4 separate regions of the Homo sapiens genome follow, and all the other regions are linked to region 3. The links are contacts of gene promoters, found by promoter capture Hi-C in blood cells and fetal thymus (Javierre and others, 2016). All regions are on one chromosome and are shown on one strand. Each heading gives the region's core, a stretch centred on a gene start or on the middle of the fragment in contact. The rest is flanking DNA. Distances are from core to core; before and after follow the strand shown.

Region 1 (3,127 bases), core at 453-2,952, 83 kb before region 3:
ATGCCCAGCTAATTTTGTATTTTTAGTAGAGACGGGGTTTCGCCATGTTGGTCAGGCTGGTCTCAAACTCCCAACCTCAGGTGATCCACCCACCTCGTCCTTCCAAAATGCTGGGATTACAGGTGTGAGCCACTAGGCCCGGCCTGAAATTTTTTTTTTTTTTGAGACAGAGTCTCTCTCTTGGCCAGGCTGGAGTGCAGTGGGCAATCTCGGCTCACTGCAACCTCCACCTCTCATGTTCAAGCGATTCTCCTGCCTCAGCCTCCTGAGTAGCTGGGACTACAGGTGCGTGCCACCACGCCTGGCTAATTTTTTGTATTTTTAGTAGAGACGGGTTTTCACCATGTTAGCCAGGATGGTCTCGATCTCCTGACCTCATGATCCTCCTGTCTCAGCCTCCCAAAGTGCCAAGATTACAGGCGTGAGCCACTGCACCTGGCCCTGAAATTTTTTTTTTTAACAACAAAAAAAACAATAAAGAGCAAACAGACCAGCAGAATAAATGTAGGACAAACCTGGCCTTGAGTCATGGCTCTACCACTAATAAACATAGTAGTCTTAATCTCGTAGAATCTCAGGACCTTGTTGTCATAGGGCTGTTGGAGGACCAAATGAGAGCGTTTATTAAGCCTTTCTTTATCAAAGTCTTGCCCATTGCTTTTAAAACGGCAGCAATTATTATGGAGAATAATAATTATTTTCAGAAGGATATTCTCCATTTTATCCATTCCTGTGCCTTTGTAAAGCTCTTTACAGAATTTGAAAGTAAAGCTCTTAACCATTTATATTGCAGATATTATCCCTAGTTTGTCATTTTCTTTTGGAAGTTTCTGGTTTTCACTTGGGCAAAATATACTGTCTTAATGCTTTCTGGATTTGCTTGCTTGTTCACTCATTTAACAAATATTTATTAAGCACCTATCTTGTGCCAAGTATTGTGCTAGGAATCCAAACACACGTGCCAGATAGATGGTCCCTGACCTTATGGGGCCTACAGTCCAGGTGTAGGACCAGACTTAAAGTCCATCTGTACTCTACGAATATTAAAAGATTCACCTACATTTTCTACTAGTAACTAACTCCTATGAGTCTTGTTCCATCTGATTCTATGCCTTTCTCTGTCGGTCCTCTGCCTGCAGGTGTCCTGGTAAAGGTGGTGGAGGTGTACTTCTGTGAGCGCTGTGAACAGAGCTTCGCAGAGCCCACTCTGCTGGCCCTGCACCAGTGCAGTGAGACCCATATACAGCCTGTGCAGGGCCTCTCTAGCCCCCCATGCTCTGTAGAGCTGCCTCCCAGCAACCCAACCCTCCCTGGCCCTCTGCAGGGCCAGAGCCCGCCAGTTAGCCCCCTATCATGCCCTGTGTGTAGACAGGAGTTTGCCCAACCCCAGGCCCTGAAGAGCCACTTCAAGATTCACCGGGGCACTCCTGACACCTTCTCCTGCCCAGAATCTGGCTGTGTGTTCTCTGCTGAAGATCGCAAGGGTCTGCAGCACCACCTGAGGCAGACTCACAGAGCAGTTCCTGTGCCCTGTTCTTTCCGGGGCTGCCCCCTGCTTTTCGGGAGCCAGCAGGGCATGGAGCTGCACCGGCAGGCGCATTACCCTTTCCACTGCAGCCACTGCAGCTTCATAGGCTCCAACGTCAAACTCTTCCGGCAGCATCAGCGGAGCCATGGTGCTGGGACACAGGGAGAACTTTCTGCCGTTCAGGGCCTTCCATCCCAGGAGCTGCTGCCAGGTATGAGGCCAAGGGCCAAGCAGTTCCTCTCCTGGAGTTCAGCCACAGTTGATCTTATAGGAGAGGCAGTTGTTTCCAAGGCCATGAATGTACATGAATATAAGAGAATCTAGACAGTGGCTCAGGAGGATGGAGTTACTGGATGACATGGGAAGGCATCTTGAAACAGTTGGAATATATGGGACAAAGAGGAAGTCTTTGTTTGTGACAATGAGTGAAAGTTGGCTTAGGCTACGTGTGGCCTGAAGTTACTTAACCAATATTCTCTAATGATCCATTTCACAACTTTCTGAGAGCTAAAGTGAAAATGACCATCATTGGCTATGGCCACTGATAGAATGCCTGTAGACTTTCCTTTAGAGCAACTGGGGATTGGGCAGTAGAAGCCAGGGTTATTTTAAAAAGGAAATAACCCTTTGGGCTGGGCACTGTGGCACATGCCTGTGATCCCAACAATTTGAGAGGCCAAGGTGGATGGATCCCTTGAGCCCAGGAGTTCAAGACCAGCCTGGGCAATGTGGTGAAATGCTGTCTCTACAAAAAATACAAAAATTGGGTGTGGTGGTACATGTCTGTAGTCCCAGTTACTCGGGAGGTTGAGGTGGGGGATCACTTGAGCTCAGGAGGTGGAGGTTGCAGTGAGCCAAGATTGCAGCACTGCACTTCAGTCTGGATGACAGAGTAAGACCCTGTCTCAAAAAAAAAAAAAAAAAGAAGTAAAGAAAGGAACTTAGGAACTTTCAAGGGAGACGGCGTTTTAGTAGTTGTCATTCTTCTTGGTCCCAAAAAAGCATGAGAGAGCAGAGGAGCAGGAGGAAACAGAGAAAACGGGCCAGGAGAGGCCAGAATTCTGATAAGAGAAGGAATTGCAGTCTACCCATTCTCTACTTTCAGCCCCCTATGACCTCAATGACCTCGCTGCTGTCAGCTTCATGGAGTCTGAAAGTGGTGCTCTCTGAGGTTTGAGTTACTTTAGACTGGAACATTGCTAATAACTTAGCTCTTCGTCCTCCTATTTTCATCTTGAGTGGAAATACATTTATACATAAAACCCAAGATCTCCTTATGCTAAAAGTGGGAGAGGGTGATTATTTCAGCCAGTAGGTAGAGAAGTATAAGCATTTAGTGCTGTTATTGGCTCCTGTAGACTTTATCAAGTTTTATGTATCTCCAGCTCCCAAACTGCCTCCAGGAGAGAGAGAACCTTCACAGGAAGCAGGTACACCCTTGCCTGGGCAGGAGACAGCTGAAGAGGAGAATGTAGAGAAAGAAGAGAAGAGTGACACCCAGAAGGACTCCCAAAAGGCTGTGGATAAAGGCCAAGGGGCTCAGCGGCTGGAAGGTAATGACATTCTGAGGCTTGAAGCCCTTGGTGGTGGGGAAGAATG
Region 2 (3,349 bases), core at 270-2,769, 110 kb after region 3:
TAAATTACCTTTAGTTGGCCGGGCATGGTGGCTCACGCCTGTAATCCCAGCACTTTGGGAGGCTGGGGCAGGTGGATCACCTGAGATCAGGAGTTCGAGACCAGCCTGACCAACATGGTGAAACCCTGTCTCTACTAAAAATGCAAAAATTAGCTGGGCGTGGTGGCACACGCCTGTAATCCCAGCTATTTGGGAGGCTGAGGCAGGAGAATCACCTGAACCTGGGAAGAGGAGGAGGTTGCAGTGAGCCAAGATTATGCCATTGTACTCCAGCCTGGGCAACAAGAGCGAAACTCCATCTCGGGGGGAAAAAATTACCTTTAGTTACACTGAATAACTGTATCATCTTTATAATTAAATACCAAAAACGGTTGTTCCTCACTGAAAACTATTGAATTGGTGATGTTAATTAGGGCACATTGAACTGTTTTTTTTTTTTTAACCCTTTTTCCCCCCTTAAATAATTGCTTTTTCTCCTCAAATTTTGATTATCCAGGATCCTACCATCCTAACACAATTACTCTCAGCACTTTGACATATTTCTTTGTTATTCTCACCTCCATGTATACTTTTTAAAAAGTCGTAAGTATAGTTTTTATTTCATTTGCTTTTTTGTTCTAGAGACAGAGTCTCACTGTGTTGCCCAGGCTGGCTTCAGACTCCTGGGCTCAAGGGATTTTCCTGCCTCAGCCTTCCAAATGGCTGGAACTAGAGGCACACACTGCCACACCCAGGTTATCCTGTTTCTTAAAGAGTAGTTATTTATAAGCTTATGTTTAATGGCTGTACTATATTGCCTCAAATAAATATCCTACTTATTTAACTTTTAGCTAACATTGAGTATTTGTCTAAGTTGTTTTTAATTTTTCACTATGATAATAAGTTGGGAAACTGTATGCTTATAGCATTTTCCTTATTTTATTTTATTTTATTTTTTAATTTTTTTGAGACAGAGTCTCGCTCTGTCACCCAGGCTGGAGTGCAGTGACACGATCTCAGCTCACTGCAACTTCCTCCACTTCCTGGGCTCAAGCGATTCTTGTGCCTCAGCCACCTGAGTAGCTGGGATTGCAGGCATGAGCCACTATGCCCAGCTAATTTTTGTATTTTTAGTAGAGATGCAATTTCACCATGTTGGCTAGGCCAGTCTCAAATTCTTGGCCTTGAGGGATCCACCCATCTCTGCCTCCCAAAGTATGGGGATTACAGGCCTGAGCCACTGCACCTGGCCAAACATAGAGTTGTTTTTTTTTTTTTTTTTTTTTTTAGGCAAGGTCTGTCTGTCACCCAGGCTGGAGTGCAGTGGCGTGTGCTCTTGGCTCATGCATTTTCTATATTTTAGAATTTCTCCTTTTATATTCTCCAGAAGTAAATTACTAAATCGAAGTTTATGAACATTTTAAGTTTCTGGTTTACATATAGCCATATTCCTTCCCCCAATTTTTTTTTTCTTTTCTTTTCTTTTCTTTTTTTTTTTTTTTGAGACAGAGTCTTGCTCTGTCGCCCAGGCTGGAGTGCAGTGGCCCGATCTCAGCTCACTGCAAGCTCCACCTCCTGGATTCATGCCATTCTCCTGCCTCAGCCTCCCGAGCAGCTGGGACTACAGGCGCCCGCCAGCTAATTTTTTGTGTTTTTTTAGTAGAGACAGGGTTTCACTGTGTTAGGCAGGATGGTCTCAATCTCCTGACCTCGTGATCTGCCCACCTTGGCCTCCCAAAGTGCTGGGATTACAGGCGTGAGCCACCACGCCTGGCCTTCCTTCCCCAAATTTTACCTTATAGTGCTGTCTGCAGTGCATGAATATCACTTTTTCAGTTTTGCTTTATTTTACCAAAAATATTTTAATCATATTTTTTAAAATATAAAAGTTCACTCTGATCCCTACAGCAACATAGCAACTCTTTTTAACATTTTTGTTCTATTGTCCAATGCCTAACTCTTAACGTAACATTTTTTTAATAGAGTTATAGTTACTATGTGCATTCATATGGGTTTGGAAAAAAGGTTAACATGTTCCTGATCCATGTAGTTTTTTTATATAACTGAACATTATTATATTGAATTGATATACTAACCAGTTAGCTATTATTGGATATATTGTTGGTTCCAGCTTTTCACCAGATAATGCCACAGTAAATAATTTGATACATATACTCTTCTTTTGACTTATTTCCTTAGAATAAATTCTTAGTTGAGGGTGGAATTCTTGGGTCAAAGGGTATGAACAGATTTTTTAATTGATTCTTACTATGCCACATACCAAAGCTTAGCCATGTCAGCTTTGATAATAAATTTATATTCAGTGTTTTGCTTTTATTCAAATGAAGACTTAAAAGTTATACCCACTTCTGTTTTCCAGACAGGAAATCTGCCTCATTCGTACCGGCTCATCAGTGTTGTCAGTCACATTGGTAGCACTTCTTCTTCAGGTGAATAGCCATCATGATTTCAGCATTTTATAAATGAACTAGTCAGCATTTGCTCTTTATTATATTGCTCTTTGCCTAGCTTTGTGAAGTGTGTTTTTCTTTTTCTTTTTCTTTTTTTTTTTGAGATCCAGTCTCACTCTGTTGCCCAGGATGGAGTGTAGTGGCACAATCTCGGCTCACTGCAGCCTCCACCTCCTGGGTCCAAGTGATTCTGCTGTCTCAGCCTCCCAAGTAGCTGGGATTACAGGCATGCACCACCACGCCCAGCTAATTTTTGCATTTTTAGTAGAGATGGGGTTTCACCATATTGGCCAGGCTGGTCTTGAACTCCTGGGATCAAGAGATCCACCCACCTTGGCCTCCCAAAGTGCTGGGATTACAGACGTGAGCGACCATGCCCAGCCCACGAAGTATAAGTTTTTCAAGAAAATCTTTGAAATCTACTTTGATCACACTCAATGTGCATTGTGTTAATAGGTGTAACTGTTTTGATTTCTCAATTCATAAGTGACCTAAATTCCCCTGAACAAAATACATTAATCAAAAATGGTGTACCAGTGTAGCATATGCCTCCTTGATTCTCTGTGTATATACAAATATTTTTTTCTTCTTTTTTCTTTTTTTTTTTTTCAAGAGACAGGGTCTCACTCTGTCACCAGGCTGGAGTGCAGTGGCACCATCATTAGCTCATTGCAGCACTGAATTCCTGGGCTCAGGAGCTCAAGAGATCCTCCTCCCTCAGCCTGCTGAGTAGCTGCGACTACACGTGCATGCCACCACACCTGACTAATTTTTTTAAATTTTTTGTATGGACGGGTTCTTGCTTTGTTGCCCAAGCTGGTTTCAAACTCCTGGCCTCAAGCAGTCCTCCTGCCTTGGCCTCCCAAAGTGCTGGGATTATAGGAGTGAGCCACTGTGCC
Region 3 (3,491 bases), core at 854-3,353:
AAACAGTATGAAAGGAGGCAGAGATACCAACAGCACTGGAACTGACAATGGAGATCAAATCTCAAAAAGCAGTTTTCTATAGCTTAGTCATACTTGGCTCAATTTTTCACTTTTTGTACTTAAACGTATGGCAATTTTTGGTGCTTTATTTAGTAATTACGTCATTTTGCCTGATAATACAATTTCAGTACATTACTTTCCTTAAATCATTTCCCTTTGGTTAAACAGAAAAAGCAGAATTGGTCTTCAGGCAGGTATGCTCAAATCAAATGATCTCCTTTCCCCATCATGGCAATGTTCTTTCAGTGGTCACCTTCCCTTCAATATTCTTTCATGCAGCAAAGTATCTGAGTCTTTAATCTTGTACTAGGAACTGTCCTGGCACCGGGGAAACCACGTCAACAGGGCTCACATGATCCCTGTCCCTGCCCTCAAGGAGACAGACAACAAATAAACGAATACAATAATTACACGGGGATCAGGGCTGTAAAGGGTACTCTACTAAAGTTAGAGGCTGCGGAACTAATTTGAAGAGGATAGTCAGGGAAGGCCACTCTGAGACCGATTTAGGCAGAGACCTGAAGAAAGATGGATTTGGATAAACAGTTTAAGGAGAGGAAGGAGAGTTCAAGGAAGAGGTACCAATTACACTCATGCTGTGTATGTAAAGGAGGAGGGATAAGAAGAACATTCACTCCAGGCATAGAGACCACAAAGTGCATCTTGGAGAAAAATAAGCGCGTTGCAGAGGGTTAGGTGGCCAGAGTAGCTGAAGCTTTAGGAGCAAGAGACATAAAACGAGATTATAAACGTGGGTTAAGTACCACATCATACAGGGCCGTGCAGGCTATGGCAAGGAGTCTAGATTTTATTTAAATGCCAAGAGAAGTAGGATTACTTCGGATAGCTGAATTACACTATCTTTCTTTTTTGTTAAAAGATCACGCGGGTAAAACGAGATGTGTCGAGGAAAAGTTTTAAATGCAGAGAACCTAAGTCAGATGCAAAAATTATGCACTTTTCCGGGCCTCAGGTTTTCCATAAATAAAGCAAGTGGTTTGAACTAGAAGCCATTTCCTTCCCGCTGCGACGTGGTGAGTTCTAAGAGCAGGGGCCGCGTCAGATTGACCATGGAATTCCCCTCATCGACGCCGGCGCCCAGAACACAACTGGCGCCCTGAAACTGTTGGTCAGCGCAATAAATCAATGAATGGCCTGCTACGGGCGTGGGACCAGGCCCCGGCGCCCGCAAAGAACGCGATGGGTCGCGCTGAAGGCCGCGAGAGGCGTCCGGCAAGGAAATAGGGGCCGGCTCCACCACAACCAAAGCGTGCCGAGGAGGGGAACCGGGGCCTTGGAGATTGAGGGCAGAAAAAAATCAGACTAGGGACCCGACACCGGGAATTAGGAGAGAAGGCCGAAACGTGGGTCTGAGAAAGGATTCTGGTTCCAAGCCTGGGGGCCCAGCCACTCACCGCAGCCGTCGCCAGGCTGTGCATGTTGTGAGCGGCCGCCGCTCTCTTCCACAGCCGGACGCGTCCGACCCGCGTCCCCCCTTCAGCACCCCTGCAGCGGAAAACAATGAGCCGCCGTAGCCGCCATCCGACTCCGGCTCGCTCCGCCCACTTCGCGGCCCTCTGACCTCTCACCCCTGACCCCACCCACACATCCTCTTCCCGCCTCCAGGGCCTAGTTAACAGTCCCAGAGTATGTCCTTTGCCCCTTAAGATTTAGGACCGGAAGGACGTCCGCGACCACTAGTCCCCGCAACTTCTGGCTTTGAGCAGTTATTTCCAGAGAGCGGCGTGAACTCTGACCCTCCTCCAAAAGCCAGTGAACGGCGGGAAAAGATGGACAGTCCCGGCAAGACAACTATTGCGCATGCCCGACTGGGTTGCGTAGGAGGGAAATGGTGGGGGGGCGTCGAAATCGGGTGAGGTGGAAAGTGCGCGTGCCTACTACAGTCACGGCAGGGGCGGGGCTGCCCGGGCTAGGCCGCTCTAGGTACTGGCGGGGCGGGGCGAGGGCGTGTGAGGGGCGGAGTTTTCGACTGACGCGCACGCGCCTGTCTGGTCGCGTCGAGTGTGCGTGCGTGCGTGCGTGTTTGCGTGTGGTCACAGTTCCCGCCATCAGCCGCTCTCCCTGACTAGGGGTAGCTAGCGGCCTCCCTCCTTTGGGTTCGGTATCCCTACTTCCATTACCCTCGGCTCCTCCCACTCCTCGCGGGCTCCGTGCTTTCCGCGGGTCTGTCCGGGGGCTCCGGACCCTCGGCGCAGGTAAGGCGGGCCGGGGTAGCTTCTCAATTGAGCCGTTTTCCCTACCTCCTCCTCCTTCTGTGCGATCCGCCCACTCGGCGTTCACTCCTCTGGAGTTCGCCCTGCTGCTACTCAGCCCGCCCACAACCCCTCGATGCACCCCCAGCCTCACAGGTACTACCTTTGGGTGCACTGCCCCGGCTTCCACCTCTCCTTTGACTTGGTCTCCACTGCCACTCGCTCCCTCCGAAACTCAAACCTGGCCCCTTTTCTCTGGGGCTGTTGTCGTTCGCCTCTTACCTTCTAACAGGGCCTGCTGTCTCTTCAGGTGACTTTCGTTACGGCACATCCACCAGGCCTTGGACATGATACTCATTCACTCTCTTGACCATCTTCACCTTCCTCTTGACCAGTCCTCACTGCAAAACATGAATTGTATTTTTGTTGTGCATTTCCTTGCGCCCATTTCTAGCCGCCAGATCAGGTTGTTAGATGTAACTATTTTAAGTCATGATCCATGAAAGGAAATGATGATTGATGATAAAATCCTGTGTCCTGAAGAGTTGTCCTAAAGTGGTTTTGGGGTATTCCTCTCAAAATTTCAGCTCTGTATAAATTCCTTTATTGAGGTGGCAATTCCTGACAAGTGTCTAACTGGAAGAGATACCTGAGAGGGAATGTCAAGTAGGCAGTTGGATATAGTGGGTTTGGAGATCTTAGGAGAGTTCTGGGCTGCGTACGTAAATGTGCGCGGTGTGTGTATGTGTTTGTCATCTGCCATATTGATAGTAATTGAAGCCATGGATGTGGATGAAATTGCCGAAAAAGAGTATAGTGCTGTAAAATAAAGGCACCTAGGATGGAGCATTGACGAATTCCTGCTGTTTAATAACCAATAGAGGAGGATGCGTCTTGCAAGCCATGAAAAAAGTCATCAGTAGTGTTGCATTCTGCTGAAAGGTAAAATGGAAGGAGGACTGAAAAACCCAGTGATATAAAAGTACTCACTTGTCTTAAAGATGTTTGATGAAGTAAAATGAGTATTTGGGTTCAGTCCTAGGTCCTCTTCTTTTACTCTTATATTCCTCCCTAAGCTTTAAATTTGATCTATATATTGATGACTTAAAAATTGTTATTTCCAGCCTATTCCCTTTGTTTTCAGCTCCACATCTAGATAGCCAGCTGTCTGCTTGACATCTCAACTTGATTTTTTTCTTAGGAGTTTCAGATGCAACA
Region 4 (3,177 bases), core at 486-2,985, 110 kb before region 3:
TCCCCTTTGCTTTCCGTCATGATTGTAAGTTTCCTGAGGCTTCCCCAGCCATCCTTCCTGTACAGGCTATGGAGCTGTGAGCCAATTAAACCTCTTTTCTTTATAAAATACCCAGTCTCAGGTGGTTCTGTATAGCAATGCGAGAACAGAATAACACAGCCATTAATTCAGTAACTGCAAAGTCCCGCCTCAGCTCTGGAAAAGGATTTGGAAAAAGGAACAGAGATAGAGGGAGACAGATTTCTAATGTAAAAGTCATCTCCCTTTCAATATTCATTACCTTAAAGCAGGGACTGATGGTTGAGGGCCAGCGCACAGGGTCCTTGAGAATGAGGCTGACCAGCTGAAAGATGCTTGTAGCATAGAAGGGAGGGGTGCCTACTGCCAGTTCATATAGTATGCAGCCAACAGACCAGAGGTCCGCTGTGTGGTCGTATGGTCGCTCCTCCACCAGCTCTGGAGACATATAGAGTGGTGTGCCTTTGATGGATGTCAGCACCATTGTATTGGTGCTCATAGCCCGGGCAAATCTGCAGAAGATAATGGGATGGAAATGGAAAGGGAAAAGATATTCTAAACCTGGTCACTACTACCTAACATAGAGATATCCCAAACCGGAGCAGAGGGAGCACCTTTGATTAGGTTCCAGAAGACCCAGCAGCAGTCCCAGCCTCTAGCTCCGGTTCTAAAATGAGGCCCAAATAAGTCAAGAGTATGGTCTAAGATTCCCTGTGGGGCCAGGCTCAGTGGCTCATGCCTGTAATCCCAGCACTTTGGGAGGCCGAGGTGGGCAGATCACCTGAGGTCAGGAGTTCGAGACCAGCCTGACCAACATGGAGAAACCCCATCTCTACTAAAAATATAAAATTAGCCAGGCATGGTGGCACATGCCTGTAATCCCAGCTACTCTGGAGGCTGAGGCAGTAGAATTGCTTGAATCCGGGAGGCAGAGGTTGTGGTGAGTGGAGATCGCACCATTGCACTTCAGCCTGGGTAACAAGAGTGAAACTCCATCTCAAAAAAAAAAAAAAAAAAAAAGATTCCGTGTGGAACTGGAAGCTTAGATGGATGCTCAGAATCTTTACCCAAAGTCACAGAGCTTGATGCCACCACCCTTGGCGAGGAGGATGTTCTGAGGCTTCATATCTCGGTGTAGGATGCGGTGGGAATGCAGATAGTACAGGGCTGACACCAACTGGGCAGCAATGGCCTGAACCTAGAAATTAAAGAGGTGGAAGAAAGAAAAAAAAGGTTAGAAACAGCAGCTGGCTGACAAGCCCAAAAATTTCTCTTAATATTACTGCTAATCTTTTCTTCCTTCCCTTTCTTGCAGAGCTTCACACTATTCTTTCTTAGTTATTGTTCCCCTTGTTTAATCACTCTTTCATTTGCTCATTCATTCATTCAAGAAAAATTTATTGAATCTCATTTACTATCTGCTTGACCATGGGCAAACTAAGGTGACAATCTATATAATAACACCATCTACATGGAGGATTATTGTGAGGACTGAGTTAAAGCATGCAAAATAATACTCAGAATGGTGCCTGGCACATAGTAAATATTCAATACACATTACCTGTTATTAAATAAGACAAAATGCCTTTTTTCAAGAAAAGTAGTCAGACAAACAAACAAGACAGATAAAACAAATATGGTGGTCGGGCGTGGTGGCTCACACCTGTAATACCAGCACTTTGGGAGGCTGAGGCGGGCAGATCACCTGAGGCCAGCAGTTCGAGACCAGCCTGGCCAGCATGGTGAAACCCCATCTCTACTAAAAGTACAAAATTAGCTAGGCATGGTGGCGCATGCTATAATCCTGGTTACTGGGGAGGCTGAGGCACGAGAATTGCTTGAACCTGGAAGGCGGAGTTTGCTGTGAGCCAAGATTGTGCCACTGCACTCCAGCCTGGGCAACAAAGCGAGACTCTGTCTCAAAAAATAAAATTCAATTAAAAATAAAATAATTTCAAAAATATGATTACTTACAAATAGTGGTGAGTGCTCAGAAGGAAAGAGAATGCTGCAATAATGAATCCCAGGGGGGGCCTACTTGCTTGGGTACAGACAAACGCCTAGAATAAATGTGGCTGGAGGATATGTGCAACAAAATCCCACTGCTAACCACTACGTCCTGGTGCCAAATCCTGACTCCCCACAACCTTTATTCTTACTGCCCTCTTTCTGGTACCATTACACTGGCCCTTCTTCCCTAAAGGTATCTAATAACAATAATGTTAATAATAGCTAACTATTCAAACACATTACATGACTTAACACTCTTCATCATAGACTTATCAGGCAAACATGATTATTATCTCCATTTTACAAATTAGGAAACTAAGCACAAAGAAATTAAAGTAACTTGTCCAATGAGACCCAGCTAGGAAGGAGCAGAGCCAAGCTTCCTGCTCAGATATTTTGACTCCAACGTTTACATAATTTACTCCCACACTACACTGCCTCTATATACCTAGACTCTTATATTCTTCTCAGAAGTCTTTGAAATGGAGACTCTCAGTGTCCTTAGCTTGCTCTACCAGTTCTCTAACCTGGAGAGAGGTCGGAGGTGGGGAGAAGTTGAAGGCAGAAAGCATACCTGGTCTTCAGGAAGTTTTCCGTCATCTTCTAGGATCTGAAAGAGCTCTCCCTCAGCATAGTCTGTCACCACCACCACCTACAGAGAGAAGGCAGTGGCACTGATGGCTCCAGATTCATGCATTCTGAGGTTGGGAAATTCCTGGAACCCTTGTGCTTGGGGAGACAGGGCCCAAAACTGTCAAAGCACACCTCTTTATCAGTTTCAAAGCTGTCAAGCATATGCACAATGTTGGGATGCCGCAGACCCCGCATTATTTCAATCTCTCGTTGCAAATTCCTCAGCTCCTTCTCTGAGCGCCCCAATTTTGGGATGAACTTCAGGGCCACGACCTGTCAGTGGTAAGGTGAAAAGTTAACGCCTAATCACACTACTGAAAAGATCTAGAATTTCAGCCTTAATCTCAGAGCTCCAGAAGTCAGATTTTAGAGTGTTTGAGTAACTCTTATTATTTCTGTTAGTCTCCCGCTTCCATTTTCTCCATGGTACCCTGGCCTTATCCAGGCTTTCCCCATTCCTCATCCCAGGAGGAAACAGCATCTGCAAAACATTTCCCCTTCTGGAAGAAGTGTTCT

What was found. The method cuts DNA at HindIII sites, captures the fragments that hold promoters and counts their contacts. A CHiCAGO score of 5 or more calls a contact.
Region 1: a contact is called between a fragment that was not itself captured here and the fragment with the promoter of USP37 in region 3, in 12 of 17 cell types (endothelial precursors, fetal thymus, naive CD4 T cells and 9 more). The highest score is 14.0, in endothelial precursors.
Region 2: a fragment that was not itself captured here is called in contact with the fragment with the promoter of USP37 in region 3 in 11 of 17 cell types (endothelial precursors, erythroblasts, naive CD4 T cells and 8 more); the score reaches 8.7 in endothelial precursors.
Region 4: a contact is called between a fragment that was not itself captured here and the fragment with the promoter of USP37 in region 3, in 10 of 17 cell types (naive CD8 T cells, fetal thymus, naive CD4 T cells and 7 more). The highest score is 8.5, in naive CD8 T cells.

Annotation. Positions count from the first base shown.
Region 1 is chr2:218,650,313-218,653,439 of GRCh38, reverse strand. It overlaps ZNF142 (zinc finger protein 142), which reads left to right. Exons shown (of 11, transcript NM_001379659.1): 5 at 1,140-1,739; 6 at 2,914-3,081. Among named protein-coding and RNA genes, the nearest start is that of ZNF142, 7.7 kb to the left of the region's middle. The HindIII fragment of the contact is 7,287 bases long and covers 1-3,127 here.
Region 2 is chr2:218,456,172-218,459,520 of GRCh38, reverse strand. It overlaps USP37 (ubiquitin specific peptidase 37), which reads left to right. Exons shown (of 26, transcript NM_020935.3): 24 at 2,360-2,429. Among named protein-coding and RNA genes, the nearest start is that of VIL1, 39 kb to the right of the region's middle. The HindIII fragment of the contact is 1,496 bases long and covers 772-2,267 here.
Region 3 is chr2:218,566,963-218,570,453 of GRCh38, reverse strand. USP37 (ubiquitin specific peptidase 37) reads left to right here and starts at 2,103. Exons shown (of 26, transcript NM_020935.3): 1 at 2,103-2,276. CNOT9 (CCR4-NOT transcription complex subunit 9) reads right to left here and starts at 1,615. Exons shown (of 8, transcript NM_005444.3): 1 at 1,476-1,615. The coding sequence starts at 1,499. RefSeq lists enhancers at 1,021-1,210, 1,005-1,632, 1,633-2,260 and silencers at 1,921-1,980, 2,071-2,140. The HindIII fragment of the contact is 2,574 bases long and covers 778-3,351 here.
Region 4 is chr2:218,673,382-218,676,558 of GRCh38, reverse strand. STK36 (serine/threonine kinase 36) reads right to left here. Exons shown (of 27, transcript NM_015690.5): 3 at 2,794-2,934; 4 at 2,603-2,680; 5 at 1,086-1,216; 6 at 281-530. Among named protein-coding and RNA genes, the nearest start is that of STK36, 2.9 kb to the right of the region's middle. The HindIII fragment of the contact is 1,348 bases long and covers 1,062-2,409 here.